Linked DNA regions of Homo sapiens: region 1 is linked to region 2. The links are contacts of gene promoters, found by promoter capture Hi-C in human tissues and cell types (Jung and others, 2019). All regions are on one chromosome and are shown on one strand. Each heading gives the region's core, a stretch centred on a gene start or on the middle of the fragment in contact. The rest is flanking DNA. Distances are from core to core; before and after follow the strand shown.

Region 1 (6,365 bases), core at 751-3,250, 270 kb before region 2:
TATCTGAAGGATTAAAGGAAACAGGGACCCAGTGGCTTGGTGGTTTGGGAAGAACACTTGGTGATGGCGGCTCACTAAATTTGGCACCAGCATAGTTCTGATTAGCTTGAGATTTAAAAAGTAACCTGGGACCTGATAAGCTAGAATTCCAACTTTGATTATTTGGAAAATTTTTGTTCTTCCCCCCATTTTGCATGGCCTGCCAGGCAGCTGCTGATGAGTTATAACCATGTCCTCTTTCTTTTTTCTTATGAACAATCTTCATCTGGGAATTCTGTTCCTTGGTCTTCTGTCTGTTAAGCTGTTGTTGGTTCTTACTAACATTTCTAGATTGAGGGGCTGGAATGTTATACCTCTCTCCACCACCCATCTTCAGCTTCTTTGTCACCTACAAGTGAATGGAAACAAATATTGAGTAAAATTCCATTAAGAAAAGTTCAAAATCTTTAAGAAGCTTCTATGGCTCCAACTTATAACTCCAGATATTTTGGACAAGACTCAATAACAGGCTATTCAGCTGCTTTAAACTCAAAAAAGCAAGCCGTTCAGACTTCAATATATGCACAACCTTTATTGTTATACCTTCCCTAAGAAAAATGAGCTTACCCACAAATCTACATAATCTATTTTAAAATAAAAACAATTGGTTTAGGATGGTTCCATCATAAAATGTTTGCCCATTATGATGATTACCTTTCAGTCTGCTTTTCAGATTGCAGGATCTCCACTACCTGTCCTCTTCCTTGCTGCCAAGCCCAAGATAACAAGTGTTGCTTTCTGACAGATCCCTTCCTTTGTCTCAATACAGAAGTTTTCATGGGCCGATCTGCTGAGTTCAGCCTAGGAGCTGAGGCCAACATCTGAGTCTCCTCAGCACACAAGTTTGAGAGAAGTCCTAGCTAGAAAAGTAAAGATTACTTCATTATTTCAAAAACACGTTGAGAAAGTGATCATTTAGATTTACTACGAAAATCGTTGACTGTAAAGAAGGCTACTTCCTGAACTAAAAGGTAGAAAATTTCTCGTAAGATGGCTTTCTTTGACCTTATAACCACGACCATTTAAAAAAACTCTTCACCCTTGAGATCCAGTCACTCCTGGGGAATTTTTGTAAGTGTCTCCAAGTCCCGCAATAAGTTTTATCTTTATCTTTTTCCTGGGAAAGACCTTCAGATTCTCTCGCGTATAAAATCAAGGAAGTGTTAAATGTTGAGTCATATCAAAAAATTGGCTTCAGGCGGATTTTCTAAAGAGACCGTGTTTTTAAACTCCCACCAGAATTTTCCAATCTTTCCACACATGTCACATCCATTTTCAGTCTCTTGGAACATGTAGACATCACGCAGTGTTTCCTTTGGTTATGAACGCTCTCGCCTCCTCCCCGTCTTAAAATAAGTTCTCACAAGCCCTAACAGTCTAAGCCCATCTTAAATATATAAAAATGTCTCCCTAGAGGGAACAGCTTAACTTTCAAGGTTTGGTTTTAATTTGATGTTCCAAGAAAATAAGTTACCAAATAGTTAAGCCCCCTCCTTTCAAAGGGGTAAGAGAGCTTTCCAAACAGATAAACAACCCTAAATAAATTGCCATTTCCGGACTGTGAGTAATTCCCAACTCGAACCCGGAAAACGCCTCCTCCGACGCCACAAGGGCTTGGCTTCCCAGTGGCCCCATCTCTCCGGAGCCGCAGGGGTCGCGGCGCTGCGACCGCCCGTGACCGCCCGCGCCCGCCCGGGTTACCCGGATCTCGCCTCCGCTCGCCTCCTTCCTCCAACAATGGGGAGCGCGGCCACCAACATGGCCGCGCCCTTAGCGCAGCCGCTACTTACTGACTTCAAGCTCGGAACTAACGCGGCAGCGGCTCCCTCTCGACGTCGAAGCCTCCCTCCCTTTCCAGGGAGAGACGAGGCACGGACCGACAAAGCCCACGAACACCGATGAGCGAGCTGCCGGCCACCCCAGCTTCTACAACCCGACCTTCTCCTTCTGCCTCTACCGACAAAATGGAGTCGGCAGCGACTGCAGAAGCAGGGCCGGGAGGCTCCGCGGCCAATCAAAACACGACAGCGCGGGCCTGGCCAATGAGAAGCGGGCCGCCGCCTGTTGCTGGGGCTGGCCGGGGGCGAAGGCGCGGAGGTGGGGCTGCAGAGGGTTTGAAATCTGCCCGGGGAGGAGGAGCATGCCGGGAGTAACTGCTCGGTCCACCGGTGTCTTAGTCCTTTCTCCGGCGGCCTCTCCGCGCCCCTGGCCCGCCGAGGCCCCGGCCGCTAGCTCTCGGCTCTTCCTACCGCTCGGCTCTCGTGCGCGCGGGCTCGCCGCCCTTGGGACTGCCCTGGGGGAAAAGACTGACCGGCGGGGGACGTTTGGTTCTCGAATTAGGGCCACTGAGTCCTGTAGCCTGTATTGACAGATGGAAGATACTCCGGAAAGCCTCTTGCCAGGGCGCAGCCCCCTCCCGCCTCGGGCCTCGGCTTCTGGGTCGCCTCTCTCCCACACCCACAACTCCGCGTCCGAAGCCGGCGCCTCCCCGCGGTTCCCTCCAGTGCCCCCACCCTCCAGCCCCGCAATTACTCAAAAGTTGCCTCCCTGTGAAGGCGGTTCAGACACACGCGGGCAAGTCAGTCACTTCCTGCTTGGTGGCCCCATTGGTCCTTAAGTTCAATTAGAGCCCTTTACGCGCCGTGTTACCGTTTCCTGTGGCTGCAGCTCTCCCCACCCACACACCCTCGAGGGCCACAACCGGTTAGGTTTTGTTTCTCTGAGCACAGCGCCTTCGCGCGTTGTAAGTGCACAGTAAGTTTGCTGAAAGAATGAGGACTGCTCTCCTCCCCTTTCTGCCCCACTTGTAAGTGAAAAAGGGGAAGAAAGAGAATATTGTTCAGTTGATTATGCCAGCCAGATGCAGGTAAGGGGAAAATGGCAATTTCTTTGGAGTAAATGTATAAGTAACCCAATGTGAATCTTTTAAAAGAGCACTAATTTCAATGAGCGTGAATAATTCTGGGCCAAACGGTACAAAATCAGTCTCATTCACAGTTTGTTCGTGTATACACATATATACCCAAGTTTACGTTACAGAATTTATATTTACCAACTTTTTATAAATCTCATGTAATTCGTTATTTTTGAGACGGAGTCTCCTTCTGTCGCCCAGGCTGGAGTGCAGTGGCACAATCTCGGCTCACTGCAACCTCCGCCTCCTGGGCTCAAGCGATTCTCCTGCCTCAGCCTCCTGAGTAGTTGGGATTACAGGCGCCTGCCACCACACCCTCCTAATTTTTGTATTTTTAGTAGAGACAGGATTTCATCATGTTGGCCAGGCTGGTCTCAAACTCCTAACCTCACGTGATCCGCCCGTCTCAGCCACTCAAAGTGCTGGGATTACAGGCGTGAGCCACCACACCCGGCCTGTATTTCGTTTTTTAATCTTCAATTTTTTGCCACCGTTATCCCCCACTTCCCAATCCAACCCAAATTCCTATATTCTAGCCATTGGATCTTAAGAAAAGTTACTGCATCTTACGGGATGCAGTTTGTTAATCTAATTTGATAAAAGAGGTATTTTTGAGCATAGGGACTTTCTGATGCTAATCATATTCAAATAAGAAGTATGTGGTAAACCAACAGGTGTCTTAGTGAAAGTGTAATCTGTTTTCCAAACATTCAAGAAGTTTGCTTAGACGTCTAGCCAGATAATAGCCAGCTGTATTTAATGAATTTTTAATGGTGTCACTTTAAAAAACAAAAAACAAACAAAAAAACACTTCCGTGGCTCCAAATTGTGATACGGAATAAAATCTAAACTCTAAACGTTTAGAAAATTATTCAAAGCCATTGCAGTCTAGAGTTAGTCTTTTCATGGCAGGGCATGGCTCACACCTGTAATCTCAGCAATTTGGGAGGCCGAGGCAGGAGGATCACTTGAGCGCGGGAGTTTGAGACCAGCCTGGGCAACATGGCAAAACCCCATCTCTACAAATAACAATTAGCTGGGCATGGTGGCACACGCCTGTAGTCCCAGCTACCTGAGAGACTAAGGTGGGAGAATCACCCGAGCCCAGGAAGTAGAGGCTGCAGTGAGCTGCGATCACAACACTGCACTCCTGGGTGAGAGTAAGACACTGTCTCAAAAAAAAAAAAAAAAAATTCATCTCTTCAGCCACTCTGAATTTTATCTGCATAAACGCACACATAACATTGGAAATGTATAAACCCACACAGAGTATCCTTACTCTGCCCCCTACCCTGTGCTAAATTTTTTTTTCTTACATCATTTCATTTAATCCTCACAATAATGTTGTGAGGTAGGAGCTGTTTTCATCCGCACTGTACAGATGAAGGCTCAGACGGTTTCGAGTTGAAAGCCAGGTACTAGGATTCAAGAGGCCAGGCTGCAGGTTGCCTGCAGCATCTGTGCTCTCCAGCACCTAAAAGGTTTTTTGCTCAGAGCAGACACTGACTGTTGACTGGGCTGCCGGGGCTGTTCGGGCAACAAGAAGCCTCCATCCTACCATCTGGCAGAACCAGTTTCTTTGCCAGAAGGTCAGAGTCGAGATGCCCTTGGGGAAAGCACTGTTAAAGCTTTTACTGCGTCCCAGACTCCCAGCACCCTCTCAGGCTAGCTCCAGCCTCATCATTCATTAGTATTTACCAAGTGCCCGCAACAGCTCAGAACTAGAGAGGAGAAGTTAAAATAATACCTTTTTTGGGACATCTGATACAGCCTCTGCCAGAACCATATGGTCTTTAAACTCAGCTCCACCAGCACAATCCTATTAGCAGTTCTCAATTCAAATAGGAAAATGTTGATGCCGACAAACAGCTCTCAGGATACAGCTCACCTAAACTGGAAGCCAAATGCATAATAAATACATGGATGTTTAATACAAAATATTTAGCAAAGATTTATCTGGTGCCTACTTTGTGCCAGGCACTATGCCACGCTCTGGGGATACAGCAGTGAAGGAGGCTCCATCCTGGCCCTAAAGGAACCCAAAAGCTGTTTCCTTTACAATTTACCAGAGAGGGAAACTAGTGTCTGGGAAGATTTATTCCCTCCCTTCTTCCCCTGAGAGTCAAGGACAGGCAAGGCCAAAATCAGCCTGCTAACCTCACTCAGGAGGTGCAGGTAACAAACATTGTTACTGGACCCTGCAAATAAAGTAGAAAAGGAGGGGGACTCTCACAACTTGCTGAAATTTTTTCACTGGAGGATCTGTTTTGAGCTATGTATCAGTGGCAACCAAAATCAATGAAATCATTAGGAAAACATTATCTACCTAATCTGTAAGTAGAGGTGGAGCAAAAAGCAAGTGTTTCTGGGCCGGGCACAGTGGCTCACGCCTGTAGTCCCAACACTTTGGGAGGCCGAGGTGGGCAGATCACGTGAGGTCAGGAGTTCGAGACCAGCCTGGCTAACTTGGTGAAACACTGTTTCTACTAAAAATACAAAAAATTAGCTGGACGTGTGGCGCATGCCTGTAATCCCAGCTACTTGGGAGGCTGAGGCAGGAGAATCGCTTGACCCCGGGAGGCAGAGGTTGCAGTGAGCCGAGATCGCGCCATTGCACTCCAGTTTGGGCAACAACAGCAGAACTCTGTCTCAAAAAAAAAAAAAAGAAAGTGTTTCTGAAAGCCCAGCTTTGGGGGAGAGACAGGTTGTAGGCTGAGGCATACAACTGCACCAGTGCCGGGGTAGTTGGAGAAATCACCCAGGTTTGCCATGGCTTTGGAATAAGTATATAGTAGAATCGACTGGCCTTCAGGCTGAGTCTCAGTTTCTTCATCTGTAGAATGGCAATCCTCCCTGTCTTGTAGAGCTCATGGTAGGAGCCAATGAAATAATAAATGTAAAAGCACTTTTATGATGTAGATTTAGAATACACCTGTAATTCCAACACTTTGGGAGGCAGAGGCGGGAGGATCACTTGAGCCCAGGAGTTCAGGACCAGCCTGGGCAACATGGTGAAACCCCATCTCTACAAAAATTACAGAAATTAGCTGGGAGTGGGAGGTGGTGTGCCCCTGTGGTCCCAGCTACTTGAGAGGCGGAAGTGGGAGAATTCCTTGAGCCCAGGATGTCGAGACTGCAGTGAGCCATGATCACACCACTATACTCCAGCCTGGGCAACAGAGCAAGACCCTGTCTCAAAAATAAACAGAACATGCTAAAAACGTTAGGTACTTTAATATTATCCCCCAACTCCACCCCCGCCCTAGCGAGTCCATTTCAAAACAAAAGCTGGTTTGGTTCTTTTTCTTCTTTAAGCTCATATATGAAATCAGATGGTCAACTTTGAATGTTTTTGCAGGTCTGTCCGCTCAGGGCTTAATTCAGTTTGAAGAAGCAAGCAAATTCTTAGAAC
Region 2 (6,183 bases), core at 3,434-5,933:
AAGTGGCTTGAGGTCCAAGGACTTGAATATGGCCAGGATCCTTTCACAGAACACACAACAGAATTGCACATTTCACTGAAAACTTTTTATTGCTCTTTTGGATAGAAACGGGAATTTATTTGCCAGGAAGGATGATCCCATCATACTGAAAGAGAAGAGATTTAATTTTTTCAGAACAGGAGGCAACAGCAGAGATTGCAGCAATGGCTAACTTTTGAGAATTCACATCTGATTGATACATGAACTTGGGCTCTGAATCCCATCCTTTTCTGGACTAAATAGGAAGCTGGCTGGTTTTTACACTGTGCTGAACTGCACTATCATCTGAGAAAGGGGGCTCCTGTTAAAAGCCATATTCCTCCCCTTCCATCTACCCCCATTCATGGTGACAGGGAGAAGGCCTAGTTCTGGATGTTCTTTTAAACCATCATCCCTGGAAGCCCCTGATTTGTCAAGATGCCCAATATTCTAACTTTAAAGAAGATACCCAGCAAATAGTACTATATTTTGCATCCCCAAATCCCAACTCCATTCACCAACATCACATTCCACCACTTCACTTGAGATAAATCAGCTTTACCTTCTGCTGGAACCAGCGCATGGCCTCCTCTTTGCTGATTCTGTGTTTGGCCCCAATGCAGCCTGTCCTGCGCTTCTTGTCTGCGATGCTGAAACCTGGCCTACCCAGCACCTGTCCCAGGAATAACCAACAGTCACCTAGCCAGCTCAGAGTCAAGAGCAGATGGACAAGACTCACACATTACAGACAGATCTTCAAAGAGTCACTTGGCAGCCCAATGGATTCTGGAGCAAGACCCATGATCTGTGTCTGACAAAGCTGCCACCAGCATCCCACGCAACACACAGCCATACTGTAAGTTTGCTTTGGAGGCTGGAACTTTCAGCACCCCCCTAACCCAGCCTATTTTCCAGTGGTGCTGAGGATCCTCCATTACTGCTCCCAAATCTCCATTTTTCTTTTTAAAAGTAACATTTAAAAATCTATTGCCACACCAGCAGTGTAGAAAACATACAACTCTGAGAAGCACAAATATATATATTTTCTTCCTTCTGCTTCAGCTCAAAAATGCTTCCCAAAGGTGTGCTGTTCCTCCAACATCCTGTGAGTATCCAAGTCTTATTACTTGTCTGTCTAATGAGGGTGCCACCATCTTTCAGGTTCCACACTAGTCAGGACTTCTGATTTAGGCTATTCAGTTTTATTGTTGGACCAAAACACGGCAGTAACACAAAAGGTCATTTCTATGTTAAAACCCCCTTCCTGAGCAAACCACTGCATCACCCAAAGCTGTTTCTATAGGAAGAACCAGGGGGAGAACAGCCTCAGTGCAGCCAACCAACCCATAGGCCAAATGTGGCACCAATACTGCCTCTCTCCAAAGTTTCAAATCACTGGCTGGAGGGAACAGTTTCCTTCATCCACCTTTAAGCCATGTGGGTGCTTTACAGATCCTCGACTGCAAGTTCCCCAACAGCAGGGATCTTGTCCACCTTGTTCAGAGCTGCACCCCTACATTTGCCACAAATGAGGCACATTTCCCCAAGGGGGAGGAGAACACAAAGGCAGACAATATTCAAAGCTGCAACTCAACATGTGAACACCAACATACCACATATGAAATAAAGATTCCCCTCTCCTCACAGACCAGGAGCGGGAAAAGATTAAATATTCATACCACATAGAAGTCCAGGCCGTAGATACCAATGCTTGGGTCATATTTGATACCCAGATCGATGTGTTCCTGGATCCCAAAACCAAAGTTTCCAGTATCTGAGAAGTTGTTTTTTCTTAACTCATACTCCCGCACCTGTGGAGAAAAATGCAGCAATAACATTCCTTGTCATCTTCAACTCCCTCCCACCCCCAAGTAACTATTAATAGCTCAGCCTGCAACATGCACCCCAGAGCAAACAGAAGTCAATGAAACTTGGCTGAGAACACAACCTGACTTCCTCACTATACCTCGACTATAGATTCACACCCCAACTACCCAGTATGACCTCTCCCAGCTTCCAAAGAGCAGAGAAAAACCCAGAGAAAGCAGAGGCATGAAATGACTCCCAAGCATCCTTTTTCTTTTTTTTTTTTGAGACAAGAGTCTCACTCTGTGGCCTAAGCTGGAGTGCAGTGGCACAATATCAGCTCACTGCAACCTCTACCTCCCAGGTTCTAGCAATTGTCGTGCCTCAGCTTCCCGAGTAGCTGGGACTACAGGAGCCCGCCACCAAGCCCGGCTAATTTTTATCTTTTTTTAGTAGAGATGGTGTTTCACCATGTTGGCCAGGATGGTCTCGAACTCCTGGCCACAAATGATCCAACCGCCTTGGCCTCCCAAAGTGTTGGGATTACAGGCGTTGAGCCACCGTGCCCAGCCTCAAGCATCTTTTAAACCACCAAGAACAGTTTAACCCTGCTGATTGTAGAAAAAGCCTTTTAGAAGCTTAAGTAAATAAATATCAAGACACCAAAGAACAGAACATTAAATGTAACTTATCTACATGTGTTACTAAAGGAGTGCTGATCAATATCACTCCATTAGGGGATTAGGCTCACCTTTAGACCCTTCTCCAAGATTTCTTCTGCCTTGGCCCCTCGAACTGTGCAGTGGACAGCAATCTTTTCATTTCTCCGGATGCCAAAGGATCTGACAGTGTATCTAGCTGCAGGAAGTGGGTAACAAGGAGTCAGATGCCATCATACCCCCACTACACTCACCTCTTTCCCAGAACACCATCTCCATGACTTAAAGAGACATTAAGCATTCATCCACACTCTTTTAAGTTGTGGTGTTCTAATTAGTGTCTCCCACATCTATTAATAAGATTTCATCCACAGCACAGATTTTCCCATTTCCAGACATCCAGCCATCCTTCAGCAGTTAAGAACAGTCATAACGCCGAAGTTCCAGGAAGGGCAAGGTCACAACCAGAATAGGCCGAAGAAGCCACTAGTAAGATTATCATGTTCCAAAGAAAACAAAGCATTATTGACAACATCTACTATTTGCTGAAACCTTATTGTACTGTTATCCATATTTTACAGGTGAGGTTTTGAGAGGTTTATTAACTTGCCAAACATCACAGCTGGTAACAAAAAGCAGGAGTGGAATCCAAAGACTTGCCATATTTCACTGTCCTAAAGCAACTACACATGTACAACTCATTTTATCTTCCACAATTATAAAGTATTACCCTCTTTATGCAAAGAAAAAAGCAGAGGTCCAGAGAGCCCAGAGTCAGACCAGCAAATGGTGAAGCCATCACTCAAACCCAGGCAATCTGTATACAACTTTTGAGATAGGGTCAACCAGGCTGGAGTGCAGTGGCACTAATATAGGCCACTGAAGCCTCATGCTCCCGTACAGCCCTGTTCTTAATGCAGCCTATATAACCCTAACTGCTAATCAGATCTAATGATCTTTACTTCGTTCCTGACATTTCCACTCTATCTCATATCCTAGTTACTTAGGAAAATCTTTACTTGGGCTAGTCTTAGCTTAAGATCTGCTCAAATAAAATCTAGTGTTCCAATCCCACACGCCATCTTGAATAAAAAAAAAAAAAAAAGACACCTCTTGGCCGGCTCATGAATTTAATGCTTTAAGTGATGCCGACTGTCACTTTCTAAACAGACTCGACAGCAGGTAAATCAAGAAACAACCAAGCGACCCAAGCAGGCAAACCCTGTATGTCCTTGTGACTACTCACCTTTGGAAAACACAGGGGTCTGCCCTGTGAGCTGCTCCAACACCTTGGCTGCTCGCGTCAGTCTGTCTCCACTCTCCCCAACACAGATGTTGAGACAGAGTTTGCGGATGCGAAGTTCCCGCATGGGGTTCTCCTTTTCACCTTGATCCTGCTGCAACAGGGAAGAGCAGCAGTCAATACACTCACAGCTGAGGGCCCTGAGTTTTACTACTTTCTATCTGCACAGCATTTTTATTTCTGCTCATCCCAAATCGTAACGAAGACCCTGAATGTTTAAAAGGTATAATGTTTAGGGGACATCAAGGGAAGAAGACAGCTCGGAACCTATCCTTCCTCCACGAACGGAACGGGTGAAGAGAAAACTCAGGACAGTTATTGAGTGTTAAAAGATACGGACACTGAGATCGAACCCTAAGAGGCTCAGGGTAACAAAGAGCGCCCCCATTGTAAGGCCAACTAAGGGGAGTGAGCGAAGAAACAGAACTTAATTGCTCAGTTAACAGGAAACACGTGGTTATGCGACGTCCAGCATCCTATTCGGAAGCTGTCTAAAGGCTGGCACCTTCCCTAAGCGGAGCAACCGACTAAGGTTTCCTAGCACCGAGCAAGTCTCAAGTCCCCGGGACCAGGAAAAGGCCCGGACCCCCCTGCCTCAGAACCCTCCATTCACCCCATCTGCCCCCGCTGCAGCCTCCTGACCGTGCTTCTGAGCACTCCGGGCAAGTGCCCGGAGCCGCTCCTAAAACGATGGCAGGGAAAGTGACAGAATTCAACCCTGCGTCCTTGGCTCGAACGGCTCTGCTAGTTTTGGGCCAGCAGGCATTGCGGGCTCCATATTCCTCGGGCTGCGGGCGAAGTAGCCCCCGCAGGCTCGGCCTGCCATGGATGGCGACGGATAAAGGAAAGCAAATCCAGGTCCCAGCTACTCACCGCCATGATGGAGAGCAGGAAGAGAAAGCGGAGCTTCCGGCCGAGGGCCTTATGGGCCAGGAGGCGGGCTCTTTTCCCAGGCTAACCACAGAGATGAAGACGAGGAAGAGAGGCGCATTTGGCAAAGCCCTGCAGCGTCGGCTTCTCCCTTGTGGGTAGTGCTAGCCACTGCAGGCGACGCTGGCTGAAGACCGGGATCTGGGTTTTCCAAAAATAGTTTTTGAAAGCTCCCGAATCAGCACGTCCTTGAGTTTCCGGACCTTGAGGACGTTCTCTCCTCCCAGTGTCACGAGCTGGTGGTCCTTGTGTGATGAGAACGCCAAAACTACATTAAATCAATCATGCAAATTATGACGCAAATTTATTCTGTAACAACGTAAACAAATATAATTTATTTATTTATTTATTTTTTGAGACGGAGCCTCGCTGTGTCACCCAGGTTGAAGTGCAGTGGCGCGATATCGGCTCACTGCAACCTCCGCCTCCCGGGTTCAAGCGATTCTCCTGCCTCAGCCTCCCAAGTAGCTGGGATTACAGGCACGCACCACCATACCGGTCTAATTTGTTTGTATTTTTAGTAGAGATGGGGTTTCACCATGTTGGTCGGGCTGGTATGGAACTCCTGACCTCAAATGATCCACCCGCCTTGGCCTCCCAAAGTGCTGGGATTACAGGCGTGAGCCACCACTCCGGGCACAAATAGAATTTATACAAACGGAAAGGAGTGGTGGTTTAAGAGTCCCGAGCTTGAAGACAGGCAGATGTGGTCCTGTCTCGACCAGCTAGTAGCTATGTGACCTTGGGCAAGTTACTACAGGGTGCGTATTCCTAACCTGAAAAGCCTGGGACCAGACGGTTTTTAGATTTGGGATTTTTCCGGATTATGGAATATTCGCATAAACATAATGAGATATCTTGGGGATGGAACCCAAGTCTGAATATGAAATTAATTTATGTTCCATATACACCTTATACACATAGTCTGAAGGTAATTTTATACAATATTTTAAGTAAGTTTGTGCATGAAACAAAGTTTGTGTACATTGAACCATCAGAAAGCAAAGGTGTCACTATCTCAGCCACCCTTGTGGACAATCTCTGGTTGGTTGGCCTAACCATTTTTCCAGACTGTAAATGTATATGCTATTGATAAGCAATACTTTCTTACGCTTATTCACATATAAGTACTTAACAGCGGCCGGGCGCGGTGGCTCACGCCTGTAATCCCAGCACTTTGGGAGACCGAGACGGGCGGATCGCGAGGTCAGGAAATCGAGACCATCCTGGCTAACACGGTGAAACTCCGTCTCTACTAAAAATACAAAAAAAAAAAAAAAAAAAAATTAGCCGGGCGTGGTGGCGGGCGCCTGTAGTCCCAGCTACTCTGGAGGCTGAGGCAGGAGAATGGCGTGAACCTGGGAGGCGGAGCTTTCAGTGAGCCGAGGTCGCGCCACTGCACTCCAGCCTGGGTGACAGAGCGAGACTCCGTCTCAAAAATAAAAAATAAGTTCTTAACAGCAAAAT

What was found. The method cuts DNA at HindIII sites, captures the fragments that hold promoters and counts their contacts. A contact is called where the count stands out against the background at its distance.
Region 1: the fragment with the promoter of PNRC2 here is called in contact with the fragment with the promoter of RPL11 in region 2 in 1 of the 25 tissues and cell types used here (pancreas).

What each region holds. Positions count from the first base shown.
Region 1 is chr1:23,955,463-23,961,827 of GRCh38, reverse strand. It overlaps PNRC2 (proline rich nuclear receptor coactivator 2), which reads right to left and starts at 2,000. Exons shown (of 3, transcript NM_017761.4): 1 at 1,830-2,000; 2 at 694-899; 3 at 1-388. The coding sequence starts at 370. It overlaps LOC124903877 (a long non-coding RNA gene), which reads left to right and starts at 3,714. Exons shown (of 4, transcript XR_007065541.1): 1 at 3,714-3,726; 2 at 5,310-5,312. RefSeq lists enhancers at 1,734-2,003, 2,904-2,963, 3,142-3,770 and silencers at 2,204-2,313, 2,724-2,823. The HindIII fragment of the contact is 7,308 bases long and covers 35-6,365 here.
Region 2 is chr1:23,690,306-23,696,488 of GRCh38, reverse strand. RPL11 (ribosomal protein L11) reads right to left here and starts at 4,683. Exons shown (of 6, transcript NM_000975.5): 1 at 4,660-4,683; 2 at 3,730-3,880; 3 at 2,576-2,682; 4 at 1,698-1,829; 5 at 581-691; 6 at 1-145. The coding sequence starts at 4,665. The coding sequence ends at 116. RefSeq lists an enhancer at 4,402-4,721. The HindIII fragment of the contact is 10,512 bases long and covers 1,230-6,183 here.